2 separate regions of the Homo sapiens genome follow, and region 1 is linked to region 2. Evidence: promoter capture Hi-C in human tissues and cell types (Jung and others, 2019). All regions are on one chromosome and are shown on one strand. The core of a region is centred on a gene start or on the middle of the fragment in contact, and the rest is flanking DNA. Distances in the headings are between cores, read along the strand shown.

What was found. Contacts are between HindIII fragments. The study calls those that stand out against the background at their distance.
Region 1: a fragment that was not itself captured here is called in contact with the fragment with the promoter of PLSCR4 in region 2 in 2 of the 25 tissues and cell types used here (mesenchymal stem cells and neural progenitor cells).

What each region holds. Positions count from the first base shown.
Region 1 is chr3:146,566,473-146,574,092 of GRCh38, forward strand. It overlaps the pseudogene RNU6-428P. Among named protein-coding and RNA genes, the nearest start is that of PLSCR5-AS1, 19 kb to the right of the region's middle. The HindIII fragment of the contact is 7,756 bases long and covers 1-5,833 here.
Region 2 is chr3:146,248,446-146,255,394 of GRCh38, forward strand. It overlaps PLSCR4 (phospholipid scramblase 4), which reads right to left and starts at 2,660. Exons shown (of 9, transcript NM_020353.3): 1 at 2,515-2,660. The HindIII fragment of the contact is 8,514 bases long and covers 1-5,057 here.

The DNA.
Region 1 (7,620 bases), core at 706-3,205, 320 kb after region 2:
ATTAACTCAAAAGTCCACAGTCCAGAGTCTCATCTGAGACAAGGCAGATGTCTCAGAGCCTGCCCTCTGCCTATGAGCCTGTAAAATCAAAAGCAAGTTAGCTACTTCCTAGATACAATGGGGGTACAGGCATTGGGTAAATACATGCATTTCAAATGGCAGAAATTGGCCAAAATGAAGAGGTTACAGGCCCCACACAAATCTGAAATCCAGTGAGGCAGTAAAATCTGAAAGCTCTAAAATGATCCCCTTTGACTCCATGTCTCACATCCAGGTTATAGTGATGCAAGAGGTGGGTTCCTATGGTCTTGGGAACTCTGCCCTTGTGGTTTTGCAGGGTAAAGCCCGCCTCCCAGCTGCTTTCCTGGGCTGGCTTTGACTGACTGCAACTTTTCCAGGTGTATGGTGCAATGTGTCAGTGGATCTACTGTTCTGGGGTCTGGAGGACAGTGGCCCTCTTCTCACAGCTCCACTAGGCAGTGCCCCAGTGGGGATGCTGTGTGGGGGCTCCCACCCCGCATTTCCCTTCCACATTGCCCTAGCAGTGAGGGCTCCACTCTCGCAGCTGACTTCCACCTCAACATCCAGGCATTTATATACATCCTCTGAAATCTAAATGGAGGTTCCCAAACCTCAATTCTTGATTTCCATGTACCTGCAGGCCCAACACTGCGTGTAAGCCACCAAGACTTGGGGCTTGCACCCTCTGAAGCAACGGCCTGAGCTGTACGTTGGCCCCTTTTAGCCACAGCTGGGATGCAGGGAACCAAGTCCTGAGACTGCATAAAGCAGCAAGGCCCTGGCCCGGCCTATGGAAACCATTTCTTCATCCTAAGTCTCCTAGTTTGTAATGGGAAGGGCTGCCGTGAAGGCCTTTGTACTGCCCTGTAGACATTTTTCCCATTGTCTTGGTGATTAACATTTGGCTGCTTGTTATGTATGAGAATTTCTGCAGCTGGCTTGAATTTCTCCTCAGAAAATGGGTTTTCTATCACATTGTCAGGCTGCAAATGTTCTGAACTTTCATGATCTGCTTCTTTTTTAAACATAAGTTTCAATTCCAAACCATATCTTTGTGAGTGCATAAAACCAAATGCTTTTAACAGTACGCAAGTCACCTCTTTAACACTTTGCTGCTTAGAAATTTCTTCTACCAGATGGCCTAAATCATTTCTCTCAAGTTCAAAGTTCCACAGATCTCTAGGGCGGGGGCAAGATGCCACCTGTCTCTTTGCTAAAACATAGAGAGTCACCTTTGCTCCAGTTCCAACAAGTTTCTCATTTCCTTCTGAGGCCACATCAGCCTGGACCTTATTGCCCATATCACTATCATCATTTTGGTCAAAGCCATTCAACAAGTCTCTAGGAGGTTCCAAACTTTCCCACATTTTCGTGTCTTCTTTGGAGTCCTCCAAACTGTTCCAATCCTTGCCTGTTAACCAGTTCCAAAGTCACTTCCACATTTTTGGGTATTTTTACAGCAGCACCCCACTACCCTGTACCAATTTACTTATCAGTCTATTCTGATGCTGCTAATAAAGACATACCTTAGACTGGTATAAAGGAAATTTATAAAGGAAAGAGGTTTAATGGACTCACTGTTCCACATGACTGGGGAGGCCTCACAATCATGGCAGAAGATTAAAGAAGAGCAAAGGGACGTCTTACATGGTGGCAAGAAAGAGAGCTTGTGCAGGGGTACTTCTATTTATAAAACCATCAAATTTCATGAGACTTATTCACTACCAGAAGAACAGTATGAGGGAAACTGACCCCATTTTTCAATTATCTCCACCTGGCCCCACCCTTGACACATGAAAATTATTACAATTCAAGGTAAAATTTGGGTGGGGATACAGCCAAACCATTTCAATTATTGACACATGCAGTGCCATAGCTACCCCTATGTTATGGACATACATTTCTGTCAATTTATCTCGGTAAATGTTTGGCTTTCTAGGCAGTTGCCTGAGCTTGTAGTTACATAAAACTCCTGTTTGTTTGTTTGTTCATTTTACATGGAAAGTTGTAATGGATGATTGACATACTCTCCATTGTGAAATTTCAATGATGAATATTAGTCAAGTCTTTGATATTACAAGTATCTGCTTAAATTTTTCATCTGGTATACAATAAGACAATTGATGTTTATGGAAATTAATTATATCCAAAGCACAGTGTTCTTGACACCATGGGGAACAGACACAAAAATGGTTCTGAGTCAAATCCTGCCCAGAACGAGCTCACAGTCTAATAAAGAAAGTGCATCAGAGACAGAAAGTAAATAGCTGTAATACACAGTAGAATATGGTAATTTCATAATAAACTTACCATTACTTTTTTTTTTTGCATGAAGTGAATGGAGAAAGTAACACACACTGGACAAAAATTAGAGAACAATTTTGAGGCAGAAACTGTGTTGACATTAAAAGATAAAGTAAATCAGGCATGGTGGCTCATGCCTGTTCAGCACTTTGCGAGGCTTACTGAGAATCGGTTGAGGACAGGAGTTTGAGACCAGCCTGAGCAAGATACTGAGATCCCATTTCTACAAAAAAAAAAAAAAAAAAAAAAAAAAATTAGCAGGGTATACTGGCATGTGTCTATGGTCTCAGCTATTCAAGGAGGATGAGGTGGGAAGATTTCTTAAGCCCAGAATTCAGGGCTGCAATAAGCTGTAATCACACAACTGCCCTCCAGCATGGGTGACAGTGAGACCCTGCCTCAAAAATAAAAACAAAAACTAAATATGAAGAGCATTTGGGCAGGTAGAAAAATAGAAAAAAAATGTACTAAGGGAGAGGGAAAAGCATAAATGAATGCAGGAAAATCAGAGTGCCTCAAGCATAGTTAAATTTGAATAAAGTTAGTCAGGCTGAGATTTAAAATTAAGATGTAATTCTTTTTGCTTCAGAATTGAATTTGAAAGGTGTTATACTCGTATTTCAGCTTTTCAACATTGAGGTTTCACTGCCTCCCTCTCTTGTAGGCTAATACATGTGCAGGTTTGTTTTTGTTTTCTTGTTCTTGTAATTGTGCATAAATGTGTGAAGGGCAGGAATTAAAATCTGCATCCTGTGTGGTGATTTTTGATAATTCCTCAGCCCTCACAGCTGTTCAATTTGCAGTTTGAATAACGGAAACATTCCATCTTGCAAAGATATTTACATTTTGGTATTCTCTGGAAGCCACAACCAGGCATAAATACAGTGAGTGATGTGCCTATATAAACGTCTGTTGCATTCATAAATGCACATGGTGGACCCTATTTTGTGAGAACAAAGGGATAGAATTAAAAGTTGAATATCAAAAGTTGAAATATGTTTTACCTTCTACAATGAAAAAGAATCATAAGTCATACCAAAGAGTTTACTCTAAGAGTGACTCACTGTAAATCTTTTTATAATTATTGAATGCATGTTTTAAAAAATCCATTCTACTTTACTTATGGTATTTATTTTTGCAAAATCCATGTTATTTATAATACAAAGCAATACAATAATGTTTTTGTACATTCATCTCATGGAAAATTTGAATAGTTCATTCATAGTGGTTATTAAAGACTGTGGGTAAGAAGGAGATAACATTAATTTCCTATAGCTGGAAATGTTTTATAATATATATATATTTGATAGAATTTTTATTTGTTTCAGAAAAGTAATACTAATATCTAAGAAAACAGCTAGCAGTTTGTCAATTACTTGTGACAGTTTGTGAATCATTCATGTGGATTATACATTTACAATTTTTCTTTTCTTTCTTTTATAGTGTTATGAAATCAAACAAAAAATTAAGCTTCTGTTTTATTTTATTTTACCAATACACAAATCTGGCTCCTAATTCTTGTGCCAAAGTGCACAGTGACTGGTGCATTTATTAAGTATATGTAAGCAAAACAGTCAGCAACTGATTATACATTTGTTTATGTGAAATCTACATGTTTTGACTACTTTGTTTTGGTTAGTGATGTCTTCATTGCTGATATTTACCTTCTTTTGAGAATTAAAAGACATAATATTTAAAATGTGTGGATTATGCTTCTTATTAGAACTTATGTTAAAATATTTCCTGGAAAGGGAGTGAAAACTCTTAATTCAAATAGAAAATGAAAATTTTCTTTGGATTATTATATTAAATCATAGCCATTCCAGGAACGTAGTAATATGTTTATATTGCATGTGTAATTTACATTTCCTTTTATTTATTTTTCAGACCCTCTTGTCCTTCCTTAATGGATGTATTAATTTTTCAAATTCCTCAAAATACAGTAGAATTTTGTTTTTAAAATTTTTTTATGTTTTTTGATTTACATTTGTTTCTTCATTGGTCACCTATTTTTTGGTTGTCTTGGTTTTCTATGCTTCATATATGTAGTGGTTCTTAGTTCACTTATATTTAAGAATGGAAGACCGGTGACTCTTGTTATTTTTCTCTGTCGTATATGTCCATTTTTCTACTAGGTCTCTCCCACTAGTAGGACTAGGACTGGGAACCAAGGTAGAGACAGTGCTTATCACAATTAGGGTGAGCAGGTGAGGAGATCGCTCTTTGGATGCTAAAATGAGGAGAGTGCCATCCTTTGGCATGGGAAGCCATTCCAGAAACTTCAAAACCTTAGTTCTCCCTGTGCAATTAATTAAGATTCAATAAGAGTACTAATTTGGATTCCTGAAAGTATAATGCTGGGCTGCTTAGGCTTAGTGTTCATTGAGATAAGGAAGAGACTAGCAGTGAGGTTGGTGTGGGACACCTGACTAGCATATTTCATTATACAGACTTTCAATTAACTCTGTTTTGAGTTGTTCTTCGTACTCCCACCTTGCCTGGTATTGCTGTCTTTGAGCCAGGTAGCTCCCTGGGATAAGGACTTTTCTCCATCATAGACTGTTCACATGTGCACATTTAATCTGAATGATAGGCTCACATATTCCTCCATCTATCAGTGTTCCAATATGACTTGGAACTTCAGCCTAGAATTTATGAATATCTTTTTAAAAATATCCTGTGCTTGCTTTGGCAGCACATATACCAAAATTGGAACGATACAGAGAAGATTAGCATGGTCCCTGCACAAGGATGACACGAAAATTTGTGAGGTAAATTTGAGAGGTTGTTTTTTCTATCAGCATTTGCATTTGCTATAATTGTATTGTGGACTTAGGAGAGAGGAGAGACAAGTTATTTTCAGTGCGCCATTTTGAACTTTAAAAGGCACTTTCAGACACTTGGTTTTAAAAGATCAATCCAGGCCGGGCGCGGTGGCTTACGCCTGTAATCCCAGCACTTTGAGAGGCCTAGGAGGGTGGGTCATCAGGTCAGGAGATGGAGACCATCCTGGCCAACATGGTGAAACCCCATCTCTACTAAAATACAAAAAAAAAAAAAAAATACCCACAAAACAACAACAACAACAACAACAAAACAAAACTGTAGTCCCAGCAACTTGGGAGGCTGAGGCAGGAGAATCACTTGAACCCAGGAGGTGGAGGTTGCAGGGAGCTGAAATCACACCACTGCACTCCAGCCTGGTGTCTCAGGAGACTCCATCTCAAAAAAAAAGAAAAAAAAAAGATTAATCTAGCAATTATATGGAGAATGGACTGTAAGATGGAGAGGCTAGTGTCAGGGAGAATAAGCAGGCTTAGGAATAAGATAGTGACAGTTGTGAACACACAAGAAGAAATAATTTCTTCCCTTAGAATGACAGATACAATTTTAATGTAAATACAATATGTCAATATCCAGACTACATTCTGTTCTAAATTATTTTCTAATTCTATAATTAGGTTCTACATAATTAAAATTTTAACTGCTAACTTTAATAGATAAATTATATTTTCTAAAATCTAATATGGAACCATGACATCTGGCTTTGCATGCAACCCATATAGAAGAATTTATTGAAAGTTAGAAGCTCTAATTCTTTATCTAATTCTTCATTTTTCTTTGTGTTTTTTCTATAACTCCAGAAAAGTTATATCTGAGCTTAATCTTTTAACTCATGATCAGCATAATGTTCAGGCTTTTGATTCTGGAATAAGTACCTCACTCTTACCAGAATAACAGGTTTATTAAGCTGTTTTTATATTATTATTCTCTGGGCTTTGCTTATATTTCCAGTAATTCCTCTGCAGCAAAATAAAATAGTCCCTGCTTCATTAGGACCTGGCAGTGCTACCCTCTGCCAGATCATTGTGGTTGTTACTACCTTTTTATGTTAATTCCAAGTTATTTTTGTTACATTTTTAAAAGTCACCCATTTTATCTGCTTTCTTGCTTTTCATTTTGCCCAGATGCATTAAATTAGGACCCTCAACAAAATAAATTTAAACTGCCTTCTCCAAGGCCTAATATTCTAAGATCTAAATCCAAAGAAAATAACTAAATCCTATCTTTTTGTTAACTCGCTGTAGCATTTAGCCTGGTTAATCACTGCCCACTTTATAGAAATCTCTCCTCTCTTAATTTCTAAAGCATCAGACTTTTGTTTTTCCTGCTATTCTCCAGGTAATTTTGCTCTGTCCCTTGTGGACTCTTCTATTCTTTAAAGTATGGTGTCCCAAGGCTTTCTTCGACTTTTGACACTTATCTTTTCCTGCTATATAGCTTCAAGGTTTTATGTCACGCACTCATAGTTTAACTTTCTAAGTTCAAAACTTTAAGCTAGAGCATTCTCCTGGCAGGTACTTGCAAATTTTCTGGACTTTGATGTTCCATAAGCACCTCAAGACCAATACATTAAGAAATGAATTCCACCTTCTCAACTTCTCTTCTTACTGCACTTATGTGCCGTAAAATGAAATAGTAATGAAAGTATTATAGTATGCATTGATGGTAAATTAGGTACCAAGTAATTTCAGAGTATATATTTTGATGAAAGGACACATACATCCTCATAAATTACACACCAACAACGTACCCATAAAAAATAACAATTTAAAAAACTTTTAAAAAAGGACGAATATATCTTTCCCACCTTGAGTACTCATGTTGGATTGATGCCATATCAAATCAAATCACCACTGAATTTTGTGAAATAAAATACTAACAGTTGAGATTCAAATATGTTGGGTAGTGTGATAAATCCCAGGAAAAGTTATACATCTTTATGAGTTAGACATTCTGACAAATACATCAATGAAAAAATGAAATAGATATGTATCAGAGATGGGTTCATTTAGAAACAAGTGAAAAGAAAGGTTGACAGTAGTCATGTAGAAAAGAAAGACATTATTTTAACAAATTTTATTCTTAAGTTTTTTCCTATGAATTCAAATGTCACAAGTTTTTCCTTATGAGGCAAATCTGGATAATTGTTTTTAAAAATAGTTGTACTTTAACAATTGTGTGCGTATGAGCCGTGTGTGCTTATATGTATTTTTAGAGCTATATATTAAATGGGTTTATTGTTCAAAAAATTAAAAACACAGAATTATTTAAAGTAGTATTTAATTCCCCCCGTTATGCCTGACCCTACATTGAAATAATTACTGTCAATATTTTGGTATGTATTCTAGATTTTTAAATTTTAGAATGCCCTATTTAGTGTACATGTAATTATTTTTATTAACATTTTAAATGAATTATTTCATTTCATTCAATTTCATTTCAGAGTTCACG
Region 2 (6,949 bases), core at 1,410-3,909:
CAAATTATTTACAAAAATATAATTACTACACTACACACACACAGACACACACACACACACACAGTGTTTCAACTTGTTGTTTCATTTTGTGTTTTAACTTTATGTTTTGGACATATTTCCAAGTTAGAACATTTAGAGCTACAATGTTTTAAACTGTATATTATTCCACCTTTGAATATACCATACATTATGTAACCAATTCCCAATCAATGGCTACAGAGCTGTATCCATGTTTTCTACATTGTAAACAATCCTACTTTAAACATCTTTGACAGAGATTTTTATTTGTACACTTGGGAGCATGTTTTGCTGGATAAATTCCAGTTAAGTAAATGAACATTTGTAAATCTGAACAGCTTTAACCCTAAAACAGCTTCACCAATTCACATTTCCACTAAAAGTTTGTAAAATTATATTTTCCTCACTGCATTTTCAACAACACCTAAAGTTATCAGACTTTCAAAATTTGTAAAATTAATGCAAAAATTGATGTCTTACTTCATATATGTTTTGGATAATTAGTGTGGCTAACAGTATTCACTCTGCTTATTATTTGCATTTCTTTTGCTTTGAGTTGACTCTTTTTATCCTTAACTGGGTCATTGATTTTGAAGGTCATTAATAAGATTTCTAGGTATATTAGCAAAATTATCTTTTTTTTTCTATTAACAATGTCCGCAGTTTGTATCTTTTTTGGGGGATGCAAATGTTAATAAAAATCATGTCCCTAAATGGGTCTAGGTTTTTGTATTATGCTTAGAAATGCTTTTCCCACATGCAATGTGCACAAATATCTATTCAGGCTTTCTTTTTCCCTTTTTAGGCTGCATATGTTTAGATTTAAACTAGTAAGCCATCTAGACTACATTTGTCTATTAACAGTGAGGAAAAGTTCCAGTTTTATTATTAGGTTTCCCAAACAAATTCCTGCTTGTCCAAGTACATTCAATTAAATGTTATTTCTTCTTCCCACCCAGTGATTTAAAATGTATGCTTATCAAATGCCAGCTTTCCTTTTATTCTTCCATGTCTCTTCAGTTTCATTTACACATCTGGTAGTAGGTCTACTGCACTGTCTTTTAATCACCACAGTTTTGTAACACCTTTTATTATATGAAGAAGTCTCCACTATATATATGTGTGTATGTATAATATTAAATGTTAAAATCATATATAATATATAAAATAAGACATAATTATATATTTTGTATTTTATTATTTGTAATATATTATACATAACGTTAATATGTTTGTTCTTCCACATGAGCTAAACAGTACAGTTAAAAACAGTAACAAAAATATTCAGTTAGGATTCTACTTATACGTTGTTTTAGAGAAATGATATCTTTACCTAGAAGAATGTTATGTATTTTATTGGATTCTCATACATACCTTTTTATATCTTCTTAAAAATAATTTCTCAATTGTGTGTTATTTCATGCCAAACTGAATTTTACTTTATTTTACTGTATTATCTAGTTTATGTATAAACATCAACTGACTTCTATAAATTAAGTATGATGCAATTGGAAACTTTGATAAATTCACTTATGCTTCCCATCAAATTTCAGTGTTTCCTATGGACATTAAGGTATACACTCACATCATGCATAAAGTGATAATATGTTCCCCTACCTGTTGTCACTCGCCCATAGAATTCACAACCATGTCACAGAGTGTAATGATTAGCATTCTTGTCTTTTTCAAATTTAATGGAAATGCTGCTAGTATTTCACAGCTATCCATGAGAGCAGATAGACAGATGGAGGTTGTGTTCTATTACTATTACAGGAGAATGCAATTTAAATTAGGCAATCTATTCCCCTTTAAGCAGTATCAAGTTTGGTGCATTATATCTTCACAAGTACTTATTTTGGTGGCTCCATTCTAAATGCAGTATAAAATTAAAAACTAAATTGTAGATCCTAAGAGAAGATAAGGCCACAAAATAAAATCCTAAGTCTTTAAATATGAACGTTTTTAAAAACAAATCAAGCACAGCCCCAAATCGCCCCAGTTTGCCAGAATTGGAAATAAGAGAGAGGGATTCTCTCCTGTCACCGCCTCCACTCGCTGAGCAATTAAAAAGTTACTATAAATAGCGTTTTTACCTGCGAGTGGCCTGGCCTGAGTCCGTGAGAGCCGCGCCGTAGAAACGCCAGAGACCCATGAGAAACCCAATCAAGCGAGACCTGTCACGCAGAGCGAAACGAAAGGGCCGCCCCCGTGAAGTGCAGCCAGGACCCCCATCCCTGGGCAGGAAACTGCTCGCTCCCAAACCCTCTGCGTCTGCAGTGCAGACGCGCGCCCGACACCACGGAACTTCTGCAACCACCTGAGGATGCGACGCGAGCGCAGTGTCCGGGAACTGCTAGCGCAGGACGCCGCGCAACCTCCGCGCCTGCCCGCAGGCACCGCGGCCTCGGGCCTCCCCTGACGACGCCCTCGGCCCCGCAGCCCGGGCGCCCGCGCCACCCTGTCCTGCTCTGCGCCCGCCTGTCCAGCCCCACTCACCGCCTGCCCCGCAGAATGCTGGGCACCGGGGACGCCAGACGCCGGGTCTAGTTGTACTGGCAGAGGAAAGGGAAAGGAAAGGAGGCAGGGAAGGGAGACGGAGAGGATTTTTCAAGTTATAAACAAAGTAAGCGCGCGGAAGGGAGGGCTAGGCGCGGGTTCTGGGGGCGGGTCCGGCACGCCTGGACCCTCCTTCCCCGCGCGCGGCTTCCCCGTCTCGGACCCCGCCCCGCGCTGGGAGAGCCGCCAGCCCGGGGGAGCGTCTTCCTGGAAGAGGTGGGGCACCCTGAAGTCCGCTGAAACCTAAAAGCCGAGGGGGAGGAAGAAATGAAGAAAATAAGTTGTCACTACTCTAATAAGAGGTGAAAGAAAAGATAAAAGCCAGCCCACGGTCACTTCCAATCAGAGGGGCAGGTTGCAGGGCCTGGGAAAGGGAGCTTTGTTCATAGATTACTGCGCCTAGAGAGAAAATGAAGAAACCCCTCTTTCTCAAGAGCCTTTTTTATTTTTTTATTTTTATTTTTGATACGGAGTCTCACTCTGTCGCCCAGGCTGGAGTGCAGTGGCGCGATCTCGGCTCACTGCAAGCTCCGCCTCCCAGGTTCAGGCCATTCTCCTGCCTCAGCCTCCCTAGCAGCTGGGACTACAGGCGCCCGCCACCACGCCCGGCTAATTTTTTGTATTTTTTACTAGAGACGGGGTTTCACCGTGTTAGCCAGGATGGTTTCGATCTCCTGACCTCGTGATCCGCCCGCCTCGGCCTCCAAAAGTGCTGGGATTACAGGCGTGAGCCACTGCACCCGGCCTCAAGAGCCTTTTTGATTTGCATTTGCGCCCACCCCCAGGTCCTTGGCTTGGTGATTTAGCCTTGGCAATGCCGTGCTGGCTGGAAACACTTGGGCATAGGGCCCAGAAATTCTGTTTTCTTTTCCACAGAATTGGGGGAGGCCAATTTGATCTTGGAGGGAAGGCGGGAGAGACGCCAATAAAGGGGAAAGGGAGCAGGTTGCCCATGTTTTCTGACATTGGGAGAAAAATGCCATTTGCTTATTACTGTTAGGCACAAATATTTCTTTCAGACCAATGGGATTCAGTTCTGTGGTGGTGCTTGGAGAGAAGCACAATACACTGACAGGAAGTGGGAGAACTGAAGGTCCTCTGACCTTATAAAGAATCAGAACTGGACAGAAGTAAGCTTGATTAAGCTCTGAGGAGTACTTGGCAGAACCCCATTGTGGGAGAAGGTTGGAAAGGGGAAGGGATGTGGGAGTGGAGTTCTAGAATTTTATATTTTTCTTTGTATGTGTGTTATTTGTTAATATTCATGTGAGAATAGATTAAAAAATTCATACTGTTCTTCTCAGTAATAATTGCACAGAACATTTCTCAGATGCAGACATAGTGTTTTACTGAAAGCATAAAACAAAGAAACTGGTGGTGAAACTAAATTATAATAGCATATGTTACTGTTGGGAGCAAGCCCCCCAAAATCTGGCCATAAACTGGCCCCAAGACTGGCCATAAACAAAATCTCTGCAGCACTGTAACATGTTCATAATGGCCCTAATGCCCAAGCTGGAAGGTTGTGGGTTTACGGGAGTGAGGGTGAGGAACACCTGGCCCGCTCAGGGCGAAAACCGCTTAAAGGCATTGTTAAGCCACAAACAATGAGCATGAGCGGTCTGTGTCTTAAGGGCGTGTTCCTGCTGCAGTTAATCCGGCCCATCCCTTCGTTTCCCTTAAGGGATACTTTTAGTTAATTTAACATCTATAGAAACAATGCTAATGACTGGTTTGCTGTTAATACGTGGGTAAATCTCTGTTCGGGGGTGTCAGCTCTGAAGGCTATGACACCCCTGATTTCCCACTTGACACCTCTATATTTCTGTGTGTGTGTCTTTAATTCCTCTAGCGCCGCTGGGTTAGGGTCTCCCCGACTGAGCTGGTCTCGGCATGTTACCTTTGTTTAAAATTTATGAAAGAGGCCAAGTAATTGAGCTTATGAATGTAAACATCCACAGTGGCCACGTGAAGATACCAAAAATTTCAAGAGCAAAACATGTCTTGTGAAACATATTGCTTTGAGGGATTAAAATAAAATCAAGTATGTCATATACCCCAAATCACAACTTTCGAGGGGAAGAAGAAGAACTCAATTTCCTGTTTTTCTGAAATTTCCTGATCTGATGACTTTCCAACCTGGACATTTCGAGGGATGACAAATTAACTACTTTTTATACTAATCCCATTTTAGTTGCTCTGTTGCTCCAAGTGTATTTCTTCGTGTTATTTCCTTTTCACTGGTTGTTCTTAGGTTACCACAGTCTACTTAGAGTTAATAATGTACCACTTCACATAAAGTTAAGAAATTTATAATTACTTTACAGTTCCTCAATTGTATGTGCAAATGCTATCAGATTTTACATACCCATTAATTATAGACTTTACACAACAAAATGTTTTAAGTTTTGCTTAACTAGTGCATTGTCTTTTACAGAAATTAAAAGAAGAAAATAGCTTTTCTATATTTCCACATATACACAATTTCCTGTGCTCCTCGTTTTTTTTCTTATAGATCTTAATTTCACCTATTATCACTTACCTTCAGGCTAGAGACTTTCCTATAGTAGTTCTTGTTATTTTTGAGACAGTGTCTCACTCTGGTTGCCTAGGCTGGAGTACAGTGGCACAACCTCAGCCCACTGCGGCCTCGACCTCCTGGGCTCAGGTGATTCTTCCACCTCAGCGTCCCAAGTAGCTGAGATTACAGGCACATGCCACCATGCCCAGCTAATTTTTTTTTTTTTTTTTGGAGGGGGGAGACAAGATTTGGCTTTGTTACATGGACTGGTCTAAAACTCCTGGATTCAAGCAGTCTGCCTGCCTTGACCTACCAAAGTGCTGGGATACAGGTGTGAGCCACTATACCTAGTCCCTTTAGTATTTCTTGTAGTGCAGAACAGCTACAGACAAAATCTTTTTAGATTTTTAAATCTAAAAATGTTTTTATTTTGTATGAATTTTGTAATGATATTTTTACTGGTTATAGAATTCTGGGTGTACAGATTTTTTTTATTTTATTCCCCAACAATTTTGACCTCCATTTTTATCTGACAGAATGCATATTGTTGGTTTTAAGAATAACTTTTTATCATTGGTTTTTCTGCAGTTAGTCTATGATGTATGCTTCTTTCTGTATTCTACTGTGGTTTTCTGAGTTTCACAGATACATAAGTAGATATTATTCACAAAATTTGAAAAACTTGCAGTCATTATTTCTTTACTGCACCATACCCATTTCTCTCTCTTCTCCTTCTGGAAATTCAGTTCAATTAATTGTATGTTGGACCATATGATACTGACTCACAGCTCACCAAGACTTTATTTACATTTTTTTGATTTTTTTCTCTTTAAGTTAAATAATTTCTATGGATCCGTCTCAAAAATATGCTGACCCTTATTTCAATCTACTGTTAAGTCCATTACAGTATTAACACTTTTCAGTGCTAGTATTTCTATTTGGTTCATTTGTGCAGCTTCCATGTCTTTTGATGAGATTTCACATCTGTTCATTCACTAAGACCATCATTTTCTTAACTTTTTAACTTATAATAACTGTTTGATAAGGTTTGGATCTGTGTCCCTCCCAAATTTCATGTTGAAATGTAATCCCCAGTGTTAAAGGTGGCCTGTTGGGAGGTGTTTGGATTATAAGGGAGAATCTCCTGTGAATGGCTTAGTGCCATTGCCTTAGTGATGAGTGTGTTCTTGCTCTGGTAGTTCCTGTGAGATCTGGTTATTTAAAAGAGTGTGTCCTCTCCCCTCTCTGTCTCACTCCAGCTCTTGCCATTAATACACCTGCTCCCCGTTTGCTTTCTGCCGTGATTGTAAGCTTCTTGATGCCTCACTAGAGGCAGATGGTATCACTGTGCTTCCTGTGCAGCCTGCAGAACCATTTAAACCTGTACAGCCTGCAGAGCCAATTAAACCTCTTTTCTTTATAAATTACCCAGTCTCAAGTGCTTCCTGTACAGCCTGCAGAACCAATTAAACCTCTTTTCTTTATAAATTACTCAGTCTCAAGTATTCCTTTATAGCAATGCAAGAACACCCTAACATACTGTTTTACTACTTTATATCAACATGTATTTCACCTTGTCATGTATTTCTATGGGCTGGTTTTTTTTTTTTTTTTTTTTTTGGATGATGAGTCATGATTTTCTTTTTCTTACAATGGATATTACTTTTTTATTATGCACAGGGCATTGCAAATAATATATCTGAGTTATGTCTTCTTCCTCTAAGGAGAAAGCATTCTCTGGCAGGCATTTGAGGGCTGATCACCTTTAACATCCGGAGCCATTGGTTTATACTTTAAGGCATGACTATTGAATACCTGAAGATTTTACTAGGCTCCTCTATCCTTTGTGTTACT